Linked DNA regions of Homo sapiens: region 1 is linked to region 2. The links are contacts of gene promoters, found by promoter capture Hi-C in blood cells and fetal thymus (Javierre and others, 2016). All regions are on one chromosome and are shown on one strand. Each heading gives the region's core, a stretch centred on a gene start or on the middle of the fragment in contact. The rest is flanking DNA. Distances are from core to core; before and after follow the strand shown.

The links. Contacts are between HindIII fragments. The CHiCAGO score rates a contact against its expected background, and 5 or more counts as called.
Region 1: a contact is called between a fragment that was not itself captured here and the fragment with the promoter of MRGPRF in region 2, in 1 of 17 cell types (naive CD4 T cells). The highest score is 5.2, in naive CD4 T cells.

The regions. Positions count from the first base shown.
Region 1 is chr11:69,547,517-69,550,216 of GRCh38, forward strand. No RefSeq gene overlaps it. Among named protein-coding and RNA genes, the nearest start is that of LINC01488, 67 kb to the left of the region's middle. The HindIII fragment of the contact is 175 bases long and covers 1,274-1,448 here.
Region 2 is chr11:69,011,901-69,014,600 of GRCh38, forward strand. It overlaps MRGPRF (MAS related GPR family member F), which reads right to left and starts at 1,346. Exons shown (of 3, transcript NM_145015.5): 1 at 1,183-1,346. MRGPRF-AS1 (MRGPRF antisense RNA 1) reads left to right here and starts at 454. Exons shown (of 6, transcript NR_120541.1): 1 at 454-648; 2 at 1,891-2,004; 3 at 2,231-2,416; 4 at 2,541-2,691. The HindIII fragment of the contact is 10,508 bases long and covers 1-2,700 here.

The DNA.
Region 1 (2,700 bases), core at 111-2,610, 540 kb after region 2:
ATCGAGGGATCCATAAAAAATGACCAACAAGTTTTGAAAAAAGGCAGAATTTCTAGAAATGAAAAATGTAATTACTAAAATTAAAAACTCGCTGTGTGTTGAGTAGCTACATTAATTTCAGACAAAGTCAACTTTGGAGCAAAGAAAAGCTCCAGCATAAAAAGGGGCATTACATTCTGCTAAAAAGGATCAGGCCAGGCGTGGTGGTTCATGCCTATAATCCCAGCACTTTGGGAGGCCGAGGCAGGTGGATCATGAGGTCAAGAGATTGAGACCAGCCTGACCAACATGGTAAAACCCCGTCTCTAGTAAAAATACAAAAATTAGCCAGGCATGGTCATGCCCACCTGTAATCCCAGCTACTCAGGAGGCTGAGGAGGAGAATCGCTTGAACCCGGAAGGCAGAGGTTGCAGTGAGCCGAGATGGCGCCACTGCACTCCAGCCTGGGCGACAGAGCGAGACTCCATCTCAAAAAAAAAAAAAAAGAAAAAAAGAATCAATTCACTACGGACACTACAAAAACCCCAAATGTGTATCACCTAAGAGCAGAGCTTCCAAAGACATAAAGCTTACAGACTGACAGAACTGAAAAAAGAAATAGATAAATCCATAGTTAATAGTTGGAAACTTCAACACTCCTCCCTCAATAACAGAACTAATAGAAAATCATCAAGGATAGAGAAGAACCTAACAATACTATTATCATCTGGATCTATGAGACATTTAGAACATTCTGCCAACCAGGGGTGGTGGCTCTTGCCTGCAATCCCAGCACTTTGGGGGGCTGAGGAGGGTGGATCTCTTGAGCCCAAGAGTTTGAGGCTGCAGTGAGCTATGATCACATAACTTCAACAGAGTGAGACCCTGCCTCAAAAAAAAAAAAAAAGAGCATTCTACCCAAAAAAGCATAAAACATATTTTTCAAGTGCACATGGAGTATTCAGCAAGACAGACTATATTATGTCATAAAACAAACATTAACAAAGTTAAGGGAATTTAAATTATACAAAATATGTCCTATAATGCAATTAAACTACAAATTAATAACAGAAAAATCAGAGAAAAATATTCAAGCGCTTGGAAGTTAAACACCACACTTTGAAATAATGTATGACTCAAAGTCTCAAGAGAAACTTCAAAACATTTTGAACTAAACATAAATGAAAATACAACATGTCAAAATGTATGAAAAGCAGCTACAGCAGGGCTTAGAGGGAAATTTATAGTATTAAATGCTATTATAAAGAAGAAACGTCTCAAATCAATAAGCTAAGCTTTTATTCTTAAGAAACTAGAAAAGGAAGAGCAAAATAAATCCAAAGTAAACAGAAGGAAGGAAATAATAAAGACAAGAACAGAAATCAATGACATTGAAATCAGAAAAACCAAAGAGAAAAATCAATAAAACCAAAATATGGCTCTTTAAAAAGATCGATAAAATTGATGAAGCTTTAGCAAACTAACAAAGAGAAAAGAATACCTCACAGGTGTCAATAATGATTGAAAGGAATACTATGAACAATTCTGTGCACCTAAATTCTACATCTTAGACAAAATGAATGAATTTCTTGGACACAAACTACCAAAATTCATCCAAGATTAAATAAATAACTTGAATACTCCTATAACTATTAAACACGTTTAATGCATAGTTTTCTATTTGTTTTCAAAAAATAAATATCCAGTCCCACATGGTTTCACTGGCTAATTCTACCAAACATTGAAAGAAGAAATAACATTGATTGTTACCCAGAAAATAAAAGATTAAAGACTACTTCATGACACATTATATGAGCATTGCCTCAAAACTAGAAAAAGACTGTACCAAAAAGGAAAACTACAGACCAGATTCCTACATAAACACAAACACAGAAGTCCTCAGCAAAATATCCGTAAATAAAGTCCAGCATTATATGAAATACACCACCACCCAGTGGGGTTTATTCTCAGAAGGCAAGGATGGTTCAGTACTCAAATATCCATCAGTGGAATCCACCTTATCAATAACCTAAAGAAAAAACATATGATCATTTCAACAGACACAGAAAAAGCATTTAACAAAATGAAGCATCCATTCATGATAAAGTTCTCAGCAAAATACCGATAGAAGGGAACTTCTTCCATCTGATAAAGGACATCAACAAAAATCCTATATCTAGCATCATGCTTAATAAGTAAAGACTTTCCCCCAAAGATTGGGAACAAGGCAAGCATAGACACTCTCACCATTCTATTCAATATCATAGTAGAAATCTTAGCCAATAAAATAAGACAAGAAAAAAGAAATGAAAGCCTTGCAGATTGGAAAGAAATAAAACTGTCCCTGTCCTCAGGCAACATAACCACACTGAAAATCCCAAGAAGCCTATATTTTTTTAAAAAAAGACTCCTGGAACTAACAAGCAGGTTTTCAAGGTCCTAAGATAGAAGATCACCACACAAAAATTAATCTTATTTCTATACACTAACAATGCACAACTGGAGTGATTTTTTTTTTTTTAATTTCGAGATGGAGTCTCGCTCTATTGACCAGGCTGGAGTGCAATGGCACAATCTCAGCTCACTGCAACCTCCACTTTCTGGGTTCAAGCAATTCTCTTGCCTCAGTCTCCTGAGTAGCTGGAATTACAGGCACCTGCCACCATACCCAGCTAATTTTTGTATTTTTAGTAGAGATGGGGTTTCACCATGTTGGTCAG
Region 2 (2,700 bases), core at 96-2,595:
GGGGGCCCCCAGCTCCCCTCTCTACCATCTGCGTCCCTCCATTATGTGGGTGTCCCTGTGCATTTGTCCTTGTCCTGCCAGGGACAACCTGAAAAGCGATTTCACGCATGCACAGAAAGATCTAGAAGCCAGCAGACCCCAGATGGGCCATATTAAAGGACATGTGTGTGACACGTGGATGGGGCGTGCGTGTCAGTACATGTGTATGTGTGTTCCTCTGGGTGGGATCTGGGCTGCTATGACAGAACTAGTTTCCACTGAAGCTGACCCAAAAAGCTGCCAGCACAGCTCACACCTGACCCTCCCCTCGGAGCAAGCCCAAGGGTGGCCTGGCCACCTGTCAGCCTCCTGCAGCCTTGCCCGCAGGAAGCTCCTCCTCTCCCTTCACTCCATCCCACCATGACCCAGCCCCGACGCCGCTGGGGCTGTCCCAGCCCCTCTCCTTAGCCGCTTGTGCCGCCATCAGAGGGGCCTGTCTCGCTCCCCCAGACACAGAGCCTCTGTTTTCCTCACTCCGGGTCTGGAGTCCCCTGCTTAACAGCTTGGATTGAAGAGGCTTGTCTGGGGGGACTGAGACCTTGCAGATCATTCCAGGAGCCGCCTCCATCCAAGGCCAACAGCTTCATCAGGCCGCAGGCCTGGGAGAAGGTGGGACTGCAGTTGCCCAACATCCTGTGGCTGCCCACACGGACACCCCATGTGCACCCCAGGGCTGAGAGCAGGGGGAGCCATCTCCCTGTGTGTGGGACACTGCCTGCTGGGTGTTCCGTTCCAGCCCCTCTAGAATGCATGCTTGAATGGCCAGTGAGGCTGGGGGAGGGACCGAGAGGGAGCCCTCACCCCCAGCAGCACAGAGCAGGAGCTGGACGGTGGGGCTGGGGGTGAGGCCAGCTGAGAGGGGTCAGGTCCTGCCACGGGAGGGGGACTTTTAAAGTTCCTCCATGGCCCTGGAACCCTGGAGCCTCAGGAGTGGCAGGGGAGCTTCTCCGGTGAGTGACAGCCTCTCTGGGGTCTCAGGGCTCCCTGCCTGGGGCCTTAGGATTTCTGGGAGCTGCCTGCCCCGACAGCGTCCACCTCTCTGCCCCTACAGTGCCCGCGTCATTTTCCTTCCCTGCCTGGCCCTCACCCTGCAGCCCCGGTTGTTGGAACACCCTCCCCTGGACCCTGGGCCCCTGGAGCTACCTGCAGCTGTCCTGATCCGCCGAGGCCTCCTTTTGTGGAGGGCTCTTCCTGTGACTCCCGCCTCCGGCCGGCGGACCCGCCGGGGCAGCAGGCCAGCGCCGAGCGCGGCCCGGAGCCTTGGAAAATAGGAGCTCAGAGTAGAGCCCTCTCCTGCTGGAAGAGATGGCTTTGGAAGCAGAACCCGCCCCAAACCCAATTCCTGGCCCGGCAGGAGGGGGAGGGGGAGGGGAGTAGGAGGAGGGGCTGAGCAGGGCTGAGCGGGGATGAGGCTTCAGGAAGGAATGCCCCGCTCAGGAGCCCCCCCCAGAGCCCCACCGGGAACTCATCTCTCCGCCTGGTGACGTCACGTTGGCCCGAGCACTGCAGCCCGAGTCCAGCTGTTCATCTCCCTCACATTCTGCTGCTCGGCAGGGCTGCCCAGGAGAGGGAGCACCGGCTGTACACTTGCCTGGCGTCTTTGGTCTGCCCCCAGTGGGCATTTCGGGGCAGGCTGGCCCAGGAGGGGCTAGTCCCCACCCCGTTGTTTTAATTTACTCAGGGGCTGATACAGAGCAGTGGGGGGCAGCAGGGCGAGGGCTCCATGGAGGGGCAGTGCAGAACTGGCAGAGGTGGTCAGCACCGCCCAAGCGGCACCCCTCCCCCTTCCCACCCCGGACTCGGCCTGGGCCCCCTGGGGGCTTATGGAACCAGGAATTCCCTTTTCCCCAGCCCTAATAGCAATCAGATGGCGCAAGTGGAAAATCACGGCGCTCGGCAAGCAAGCTGGAAATTGGCGGGCTGTGGTGCCTGGTGCCTGCGCTGCTCAGCGGGAGGATGAGTCAGGTCCCCCTTCCCCATTGAGCCCCTGGAGGCGGGCGGTGGGGGGGGGTCCTGGAACGCGTTCATGCCTGGGGCACTGAGCATTGGTAGGGGTGGGGGTGCAGAGTCGGGGGTGCGGGAGCCAGCAGGGTGGCCAGGAGGAGGGGGTGATGAGAAGGCTCCCCTCCTACCCTGGGCCAACTTTCTCAGGGTCCAGGAAGCCCGAGGGAATTCTGAACTTTCCCTGCAGGAGTGTAGTGCCCAGACTGGGAGAGATGTGCCTCTGTGGGCATCTTGAAGGGAAATGAGAAGCGGAGCTGCCCCTGCACCTGCGCTGGGAGCTGCCTGCCTCCTGCTTGTCCTGGCCATGTGCGAACCTCAGCGTGGAAGAGGGACTCTCGCACTGCTCCCTGCGCGGCTCAGCTGGCCTCCTGGGGTCCGTTTTTCAGGGATGGGGTGAGGAGGGACTCTGGGATCCTGGAGGCTCACGGGCCATGCCTGAGGCTGAGAGAGAGGCTGGAGGCAGCAGGCAGGGTGGTGACCCGTCCCCTCCTCTCCAGGGCAGCCAGCTGGGGCCCAGCTGGAACGCTTGTTTACATGGGGAGGCCGGGGGAGGCTGAATCCCGGCGAGTTCCAAGTGTAATTGCGTTTGGACACTTAAAAGGAATTGTGTGAAGTGGGCAGAGGCTCTGAAGTCCACCGCCTTATTTGGTATGGAAA